Regions from separate parts of the Homo sapiens genome. Here region 1 is linked to region 2. Evidence: promoter capture Hi-C in human tissues and cell types (Jung and others, 2019). All regions are on one chromosome and are shown on one strand. Each heading gives the region's core, a stretch centred on a gene start or on the middle of the fragment in contact. The rest is flanking DNA. Distances are from core to core; before and after follow the strand shown.

Region 1 (4,343 bases), core at 1,638-4,137, 210 kb after region 2:
GTGTCATGTCTGCTCCACAGTACACATCCAATCAATGTTAGCTTGCTCTCTTCTTGAGTCTCCTGGGTAGTCTTGAGGTCATTAGGAGATTCCTTCCTTTTAGGCTCAAAACTGAGCACCAGTTACTCTCCTTTGATGGAAATTTATTGATAGTATTTCTGCTTGTTTATCTGATGCCATCTTGGTCCTACTGTTTTTTGAATGTTTGCTAAGATGCACCAGAGATGTGTTCCTTTACACAAAGTCACACATCCTGACAGGCCCAACCCTGCTCCATGATGAGGCCCAAGTTTGAGTCAACTCTGGTTCTTCTTGCAAAACCATCCACTTCTCGCAAGACCACCTCAGCACACAGATGTAGATCCTGACTCTCCCGTCTGTAAAGTCTCTAGATTCTATGTCAAAATGGCCTAAATTGTAACTAATGCAAAATAGATGATTTTTCATATTCCTTAGGATGCTCTGAAGTCTTGCGAACATTTGGCATGCCCTTATGGGGGCAACCTTTGTCAAGCTAAGCAAGTTTTCCATAATGTCAGCCTCCGTTTGGGATCTTCCAGTTTAGAACTTTAAGCTGTAAGCTCTCTGGAAGTCGTGCTTTCAGGGGTATATAAAATTCTTTCTGATGTGATGAAGGGGTAAGACAATGACTGAGAGCTGACTATTTTGATGACCCACAATGTCTACTTGCAAAGAAAAAACTGAAGCTACTGCACAAGTTCCTAAATAATGCCTAGTTGATTGTTGGGTGAATGTGCATGTCTGTGTCTCTTTCTCTGGAAGATTTTAGACATCCAGAACTGCTTAGAAGGCTACCTGGAAGCTTATTGGCTGGGGTGTTGGTTCCTTTCCTCCTCTGTATTGTAGTTCTCTTTTCCTCTCTATAGAAAGTTCTTCCATTAATGAAGAGATGAATTTAACAAAATTTTGGTAAAGTGAATCCTAGTTTGCTACTGATTTCTTTTGTAAGAGCTGAGATGTGGTCCCATTAAAAAATCTCCCAAAGACCGAATTGGTAGCATTTAGCACTAAGTTTGCCATTAGAGGTGGTGCTCCATAGAGCAGCCCATATGTCAAAGTGCCACGCACCCCATTCCCTCCATGAGACTAAAACGATACCACCTGAGTCTAGAGAGACCTGAAAATTTGCTGTGTGCTTTCTCTTTTTTGTAGGATGTTTATGTTTGATGGAGCTGAGTTAAAATATCTACCTTGACCAGCAAGGCCATTTGACCCATGATCTATTACAACCTGAGACCAAGCCTACATCACCCCTCCCAGTTTGAAACTCCATATATCATATTTCACTCATGCATTTGACTTAAAACCATACAGACTGGGCTTAGGGGTTGCTGGATAGCAGCTGTCTCCAATGCTCAGAAATACTACATGGTTATTATTTGATAAATTGAAATTCTCTGATAAAAGCCTGTTTATCAGGTTGGGCTTTATTTGAGGACAGCATTCCCCAAAGTGCCATTCTTTGGATGCTGAAGCATCTTTCCATCTCCCAGTACTTATTTTCTTCTGATTTCGATATATTCTCTATTGATTGCCTCAGTAGCCATTGAAATTTATGCTCAGAAGAAATTAAGCATATAAAACAGAAGCAACGTATTTGCCTGGATTTATGACCTCTGTAGATTTAGTTGCACAACCTTTGGGAAGGTAATAAGCCTCAATGGGCCTCAGTTTGCTTATCTGTAAAATGAAGGGGTGGAATTAGGTGGTTTCTAAGGACTTGCCAACCTGTACCGCTCTAATGCAACAGAACATATTAAACATTTGTTTTCTGATCCTACATCTGTTGCTGAAACTCAAACTTTAACTTATGTTGGGAGTGGGGAGGAGTTGCTGCTCATTTGCCACCAGATCTATTTATCTATTTATTTGTTTGTTTAATTATAACAATTTTATTTTGATAGATATGTACAATGGAAGCAGAAACACCTAGATGCACTGAGAGGCTGCAGCAGGATGAGGGAGGCACAGAATCTTGCTCTCAAAATCCTGTTCAGGAGCCATGATATGCCTGACTGAAGCTCATCATTCTGACTCAAAGTTTGCAGCACAGTAGTCCAGCAGTTGAGGGGAGTGATACACTCTGGGTCTTCCATGCGTGAATTAGCAAGTGTATCTGTGGAAGACACTGTTGGTCAGCCCAGATCCTCTTTACTGCACCTGTAGGTAGAGCACATAACAGCTTAATCAGTCCCCTTCGTGGGGAGGCTGGCCCTTGGTTGACAGGTGCTGCCTCTTCTGGAGATACCTGGGAAGTTATTCACCTCCCCACCACCTGGGGGCAGCCAGTGGCCAGTGACTGACTGACAGGATTAGGAAATGCCAGTCATCTCACCTCAAGATGGAATACATTGTGGTGCAGTTTACACTCAGTGTTTCCCGTGGGATCAGGCTGAGCTGGACTTCTCCTGAAACCACATTCATGCTTACCTTTTCCCCCGCCCTACCTTCCCCTTCCCGCTTCTAGGCTTTTTATGAGAACACTCCCTCAATAAATCACCTGTAGAAGGTGTGCCATCTCAGGCTCTGATAGGGAACCCAACCTGTGTATTGATTAGTTTTAGCTTTTTTATCCATATGGTAACATGGACAATAGTCTAGGCATGTGGACCTAAGTCTGGTTTAGAAAGAAAAAAATACCTTTTTCAAAAATCTTTTAAACCTGGGACTTTCAAAATCTGTGTTTTCAACTCAAGACGGCGATAACAATTCCCAAGGGTGGCCCTCATAACTCAAATGAGCATCTCTCTGATTGGGATTCACTACTCTAAGCACAGCTGGTTTGTTCCCCTTAGAGTTGTTTGCCCAAAGAAAGCCCTTCCCAAGGTTTCCCTTCTCCGAAGAGCTGAGCCATACCCATTCTCCCAGCTGTTACGTGACTCTCAGCTGCTCACATTCTAGCATACACTTTTATCAGCACCTGCATTCTCATTTCCTAAGTTTGCTCTCTCTGAAAACTTCCCTTTCCTACCCTTCTACCAGCCTTCACTTCCATTTCTTCCTGAATGTGCATCAGCCTGGCTTCAAGCCATGAAGAGGAGGCTATGCATTTGATGTTGGCAGTGTCCTGGGCCCATCAATAAAGTAGAAGGCAGTGAGAGATGTATGGCTGACCAGAGGTGATGCTCCTCATATGTCACAGAAACCACGAGCGATGAGGAGCGTATGAAAGAACTCAGACAGCTTAGCATGAAAAGCGAAGTGGGTGGCTCACGGGCAATATGAGAGCTGTTTTAAAACACTTCGAAGGCAATCATAGAGAAGAGGAATGTGACTTTCTCTGTGTGAAGCCAGGGAGCAGAGCTAGCACCAATGTGTGGGTAAAAGTTTAGATAAGTGGATATCGGCAGACTAGAAGGAGTTGTCCTAGGAGTCTAGAGCACCCTGTACCCTGCCATCAGCTCTAGCTGAGGCCAGACAATTGCTTATTGGCAATGCTGCAGATGTGGATCAATGTCAGGTAAAGGGTTGGATTTAATGACCTCTAAAGTTACTTCCAACTCTGAGAGTCTTTATTTCCTTCCTGCACAGATAGTTGGGGTCAGAGGTGAGGGACATTGGCAGATAGCACTGGAAAAAAAACTGATAATAGATGCAATCCAGCACATCCAGACTGCAGAATCACCCCATTTCCCAATACTGTGTAGTCTTGAAGCTAAGTGTCTCAGAAGTCAGGAATAAGAATGGTGCCATATGAGACTGTAGACACAAAAGAGTGGATATTTCAGTTCATCCAGAGAAAGTGTGGGAAGTGGGTGGCTGGTGGAAGCCAAGGATTGAAGGGGCTGTTAAATGACCTGGGCATCCTAAAGTGTGTATGGATGGCTCCTCAAGAGGCAGTTCCCAGAGGAATTTGTCATAAATTCTGGGAGCTAGAGCCAACCCTAGAGAGCAAATCTTGGGTTGTGGTTGGGCATGGCCGGGTTCCATGTGGAGGGCTGCAGAGACTGAGAGGTTTATGGACTAGAGATAACTCTAGGTTTAGTATGGCTAGAGATAGACCCAGCTATAGGAGTTTGGAAGGAGGCTAATCTGGCAGAGAGAATGTCCTGCCCAGGAGCACTGATAACAGACAACAAAGGGATATCTGAGCTTGGGGAGCTTGGCAAATGTTGGAAGAATGAAGAGCTCTGGCACTTGAGATAATAACATAATGAGGTATTTTGGCCTCGTGGTACAATCATGGAATTTAGTGCCAGACAGGTGTAGGTTCCAGGTTTCCCTGACCTTGTACAAATTACTTAACACCTCCAGACTTCAATATCCTCATCTATTAAATAATAATAATAATACTGGTACCCCATAGGATTGTTTGCAGCAAT
Region 2 (4,628 bases), core at 1,707-4,206:
TTCTCCACCCCCATGACTGCCCTTCTTCAGCCCCTATTTTCTCTTGCTTGGACTATTGCAGTAGGCTGTTTTCCGCCCTCCCTTCTCAACTCCATCTTATCCACAGCCAATAGCTAGTCTTCCTGGCATCCATTCTTCCCTCTGGATGACTCAAAAACCTTTGCACCTTCCTCCTGCCTTCAGAACTGAGTCTAAACTCCCCACCCTGATATTCTAATTCCTCTAGAACCTGCCCTCAACTTTCATTTCTACATGTCTCCAACTTTTACATTCTGGAAGCCCATATCGGACCGTTTGGGGATATTCCCCCCAGGCCCTCTCCCCACATTGCTATCTTGGACCTCCCCTAAAAGAATCTTTGCTATGACCATACTTCCCCATCCTCTAAAGTCCATTAGGCCCAAGCACCCTCTTCCCTACCAATCCTGAGGCTCACTAGGACTTGGTCATCTGGTTTCCCTCTGAGTGTCAGGTGCACATGAAGTCTGAATCACTTGCTGCTTGGAGTGGGGAGGCATAGATTGGGGTGGGAGACTAGAGGGGGAGGGATGGGTTTACTTTTGGCAGGAGTGTGGTTTTAAAGAAAGAAATGAACTGAATATGAAACGGATGAGTTGCGAGCCAGGAGCGCCCATGCTGGGGACTGGAGCCATTGTTCCAGAACAGCCTGGGCTGGTGAGGCAGGCCCTCCTTGAAACTCAGATGAGCCAGGCTAGCCCCATGGCCAGGGCCTCTGTACATCTGCCTTCCACTGGCATGCCATCCACCCACACCTCTGAGAGCCCCTACTGGTTGGCAGTTACTCCTGAAGAAAACACCACTGTGTAGGAGATTTTAAATAAAATGTATTTTCTGCAAAATGTCAGCAGTCCTACTATTGCATTCATCTTTCCACAATAACATATTTAGCAACACCTCACATTCACAAAGAGCTCTCCTTCCTACATTGCAGCATCCCTTCATGTCCATGACTCCCACAGGCATGCTCTCAACCCCTGGGAACCGAATACAAACCCACTGCCAGCAGCTCATAGTGGAAGGGAAGGGGGCTTAGAGACAGCAACCTACTTGCTCAAGGCCTTGCTTTAGAAAAGATCAGCAATACTCAAATAAACTCCAAACCAGCAACAAGTCAAATAATAGCCAATATTACTTAACACATAGTACATTTTGAATCACAAAACCGAATGCATCCTATTTGAAAATTATGGTAGAAGTATTCCAAAGCATAGAAGAGGAGGCCAGAGGAGAATGGAAAAGTCATTTCACGTACTCCAGCTTGATTTCAGTAGGGGTAGCAGAGTTCAAGTCTTCAGGGTGTGAGCTTTCCGGCCCAGGTGTTTCATATAATTCTGGACCCACTTCTCCTTTGGGTCAGCACAGATCTCCTTGCCCAGTTTGGTTCTGAAGCTGTGGAGGAAGGAGATCTGGCACAGTTAGATGGAACCCTTTGAGGGTTTACCCAGGAGATGACACACTGGGTTCTAAACCTGCCTGGTCCACCTACTACAGGTGAAGGGGCACCCCTCCAGGACAGGAAGTAGGAGGTGTGTGGACAGAAGGGGTCTCTGGAGGCAGCCACTGCTCTTGCTGCCCCTGGGAAACTGATCCTGGCATCTGCTAAAGGGTGTGGGCTGGTGCCCATCCAGGAAACAAGGTGTGGGAAATTATAGGTCCTCTTTGGACCTGTTGTGCAGCCAAAATTGGAGGATTTGCATCACACAGTCTGGCTAGATCTCATCCTAAGATCTCAAGTCAGTCTGACGTCTGTCTCCTGGGGCAGAACTTTGGATTGGGGAATGTGGGAGTGGGGAGGAGCCAGGTGAGCAGGGATTTTTCTACCCACATGACAGCCTTCTGGGGACACCTGCTGGTGGTGATCACATAGCTCTTCAGCCTCTGCAAGGAGATCTTCTTACTGCTAAATGTGAAGCAGCAAGTAGATGGGACGTTGAGTGCATCTAGAAATAGTTACAAAGAAAAAGACTTTGAGGATGTGTTAGGCTTTTCTCAGCTTGAATACAGCAGGGAGCATCTGTATGGGATGCAAAGCAAAGAGGAAGAAATAGATCTTACTCACCCCCAAGCCCAGCACTCCCACCCTAGACCCTGAGGTGAGGTGGGACCTGTGACATGTGCCTCAGGATCTCAAAGGCTCAGCTGCATGGTGGAGACATGTCACAGCCATCTAGGGGAGGCCACGGGCAAGGCCAGTGGGAAAGGTCCTGGGTGTGGTCCCAGATCTGCAGAGTTTGGGACGATCAGATGAGGTCAAAGAAAAGGCCCTAAATCTGGAGTCAGAAGCTTAGGTTTCATTCTTGCTCTGCAATAACCTGGAGGTGGATGGCTAGGGTCCCTTCTGCCTCCAACATGGGCTTCAGCTTTCTATCTTTAAAATTAGATGTTAAAGTGAACCTCTGAGGAGCCTTACTATTCTGGTGGGCTTAGAAGTGGGGCACTTGGCTGGGCCTGGTGGCTCACGCCTGTAATCCCAGCACTTTGGGAGGCCGAGACGGGAGGATCACTTGAGGTCAAGAGTTTGAGACCAGCCTGGCCAACATAGTGAAACCCCTTCTCTACTAAAAATACAAAAATTAGCTGCACGTGATGGCGGGTGCCTGTAATCACAGCTACTCAGAAGGCTGAGGCAAGAGAATCGCTTGAACCTGGGAGGTGAAGGTTGCAATGAGCCAAGATCGCACCCCTGCACTTCAGCCTGGGCAACATAATGAGACTCAATCTAAAAAAAAAGTGGAGGAGCACTCGGGCTTAGGTCTTCCTTGAATAGAGAAACAGAGGGAAAGAGAGGGAGAGTCGAAGGGAGGTGACTTACCTGGCTGAGCAAGTCCCTGGGGGTTGAAAGCTGCTGTCATGAGCAGCAGGCACAGAAGCACTGCAGAGACTTTCATGTTGAAGGTTAAGAGTTGGAGATTTCACAATGTTTCTTTGCCTCTCTGCTCCTCTGGCTGTTCCGCCGGCCTTTTATAGGGAGTGGAGAAGCTTGGAACTCTCAGAGGACCTTGGCCTGAGCAGGGCGTTGACCAAGTCATGATGAAGGGGGATCCTGAATCTGCTGAGCTGGAGCTGGGCACCAAAGACTTTTCTAGGAAATGCAAGAGGGAAGCTGAGGGCTGAAACAGCATGGCATGGCTTCCTTCTGGCTGTTCAGGCCACAAGGAGCCAGAGAGGAGAAAGGGACACAGACGCGCCCCAGCCATTCACCATGGGAAGCCATAAAGGAGCTGTTTTCTTCTTACTTTCTCCAACAGGAAAGAGAAAAACAATGAAAATTAACTCCTGTAGAGAAAGAGTGCTGTGCTAAGGACTCTGTTCACGTTATATATTTAGTTTGAGGAGGTACATACCATTATTATCATGCCCATTTCATAGAAGAGGAAACGGATGCAGAGAGATTAAATAACTTGACCAAAATCTTATGGGAAATGAGAGGGAAAGCTAGAAGAGAAAGCTGGTCTGCTTATATTTTATCACCAAGGCAGTTTCAACTTTTGTTTAGCAGCAGAAGTCTTTTTCCAAGTCAACTTTTATGTGGAAGTCTAATATCTGAAACAGATTAAGTCAGATTTCTGATGACAGGGGCTCCTTACATTACATATTGTGTCCCCTTCTGCCCCTCAGGCCCAGAGGGACATGGTTCAAACACCTCTGATTGATGCAGGCCCCGTGTTTCCAGGAAGGACCATTGGGTTTCTAGAGCTGTTGATGGGAGGGCTGGGGTGGCCCTCAGAGCAAAGAAGTGAGGTGTTTGGCCCATTCCTGGGCTCCTCCTGCGAGGGGCACATATCTGGGAGCTGGGAGGTGGGGAGGGAATGGCTTAAAATGGTTGAACATGTCCCTTTCCCACTCATCCCTAGCTCCAAGACTTGGCACAGTTTTTGTGCCTTCCTGGAATACTCATCCCTCTGCATTCCACTATAGCAAAATAAGCCCAGTGAAAGTAAAGGGAAGAAATAAAGAGCTAGGATTAGAGAAATAGGAAACAGTAAATATTAGAAAGGATAGATGAAGCCCAAAGCTGGTTCTGTAGCCTATAATTAAGCTAAAACTCTCCTGAACTGAAAATGAAAAAAAAAAGAAAAAAGGGGCTGAGGCGGGGGGATCACTTGAGGTCAAGAGTTCTAGAGCAGCCTGGACAACATGGTAAAACCCTGTCTTTACTAAAAAAAATACAAAAATTACCCAGGCATGGTGGCACATGCCTGTAATCCCAGCTACTTGGGAGGCTGAGGCAGGAGAATTGCTTGAACCTGGGAGGCCGAGGTTACAGTGAGCCAAGATTGCACCACTGCACCCCAGTCTGAGTGACAGAGTAGGACTCTGTCCCAGAAAAAAAAAAAAAGAAAAGAAAAAAGGAAAAAGGTACATATAACCAGTTGCAGAGCCTGCAGACACCAAAAAGAAAATGATAAGAACCTTATGCCAAAAATTTAGTTTAGAGGAAATGGATGAATTTCTTAAAAATCTAACTGACCAGGGTGCACAAATAAATAAAAAATAGAAAGTCATTCTAAAGCTATTAAAGAAATGGAATCAGGAATTGAAAATCTTCCCACAAAACATTCTCTGGGCTCAAAGGGCACAAACAGCTAATTCCTCCAAGCACTGAA

Evidence for each region. The method cuts DNA at HindIII sites, captures the fragments that hold promoters and counts their contacts. A contact is called where the count stands out against the background at its distance.
Region 1: a contact is called between a fragment that was not itself captured here and the fragment with the promoter of CCL13 in region 2, in 2 of the 25 tissues and cell types used here (mesenchymal stem cells and spleen).

The regions. Positions count from the first base shown.
Region 1 is chr17:34,144,598-34,148,940 of GRCh38, reverse strand. It overlaps a transcript of ASIC2 not described here. Among named protein-coding and RNA genes, the nearest start is that of LINC01989, 37 kb to the left of the region's middle. The HindIII fragment of the contact is 5,486 bases long and covers 145-4,343 here.
Region 2 is chr17:34,354,808-34,359,435 of GRCh38, reverse strand. It overlaps CCL13 (C-C motif chemokine ligand 13), which reads right to left and starts at 2,956. Exons shown (of 3, transcript NM_005408.3): 1 at 2,834-2,956; 2 at 1,847-1,961; 3 at 826-1,410. The coding sequence starts at 2,909. The coding sequence ends at 1,305. The HindIII fragment of the contact is 2,821 bases long and covers 1,063-3,883 here.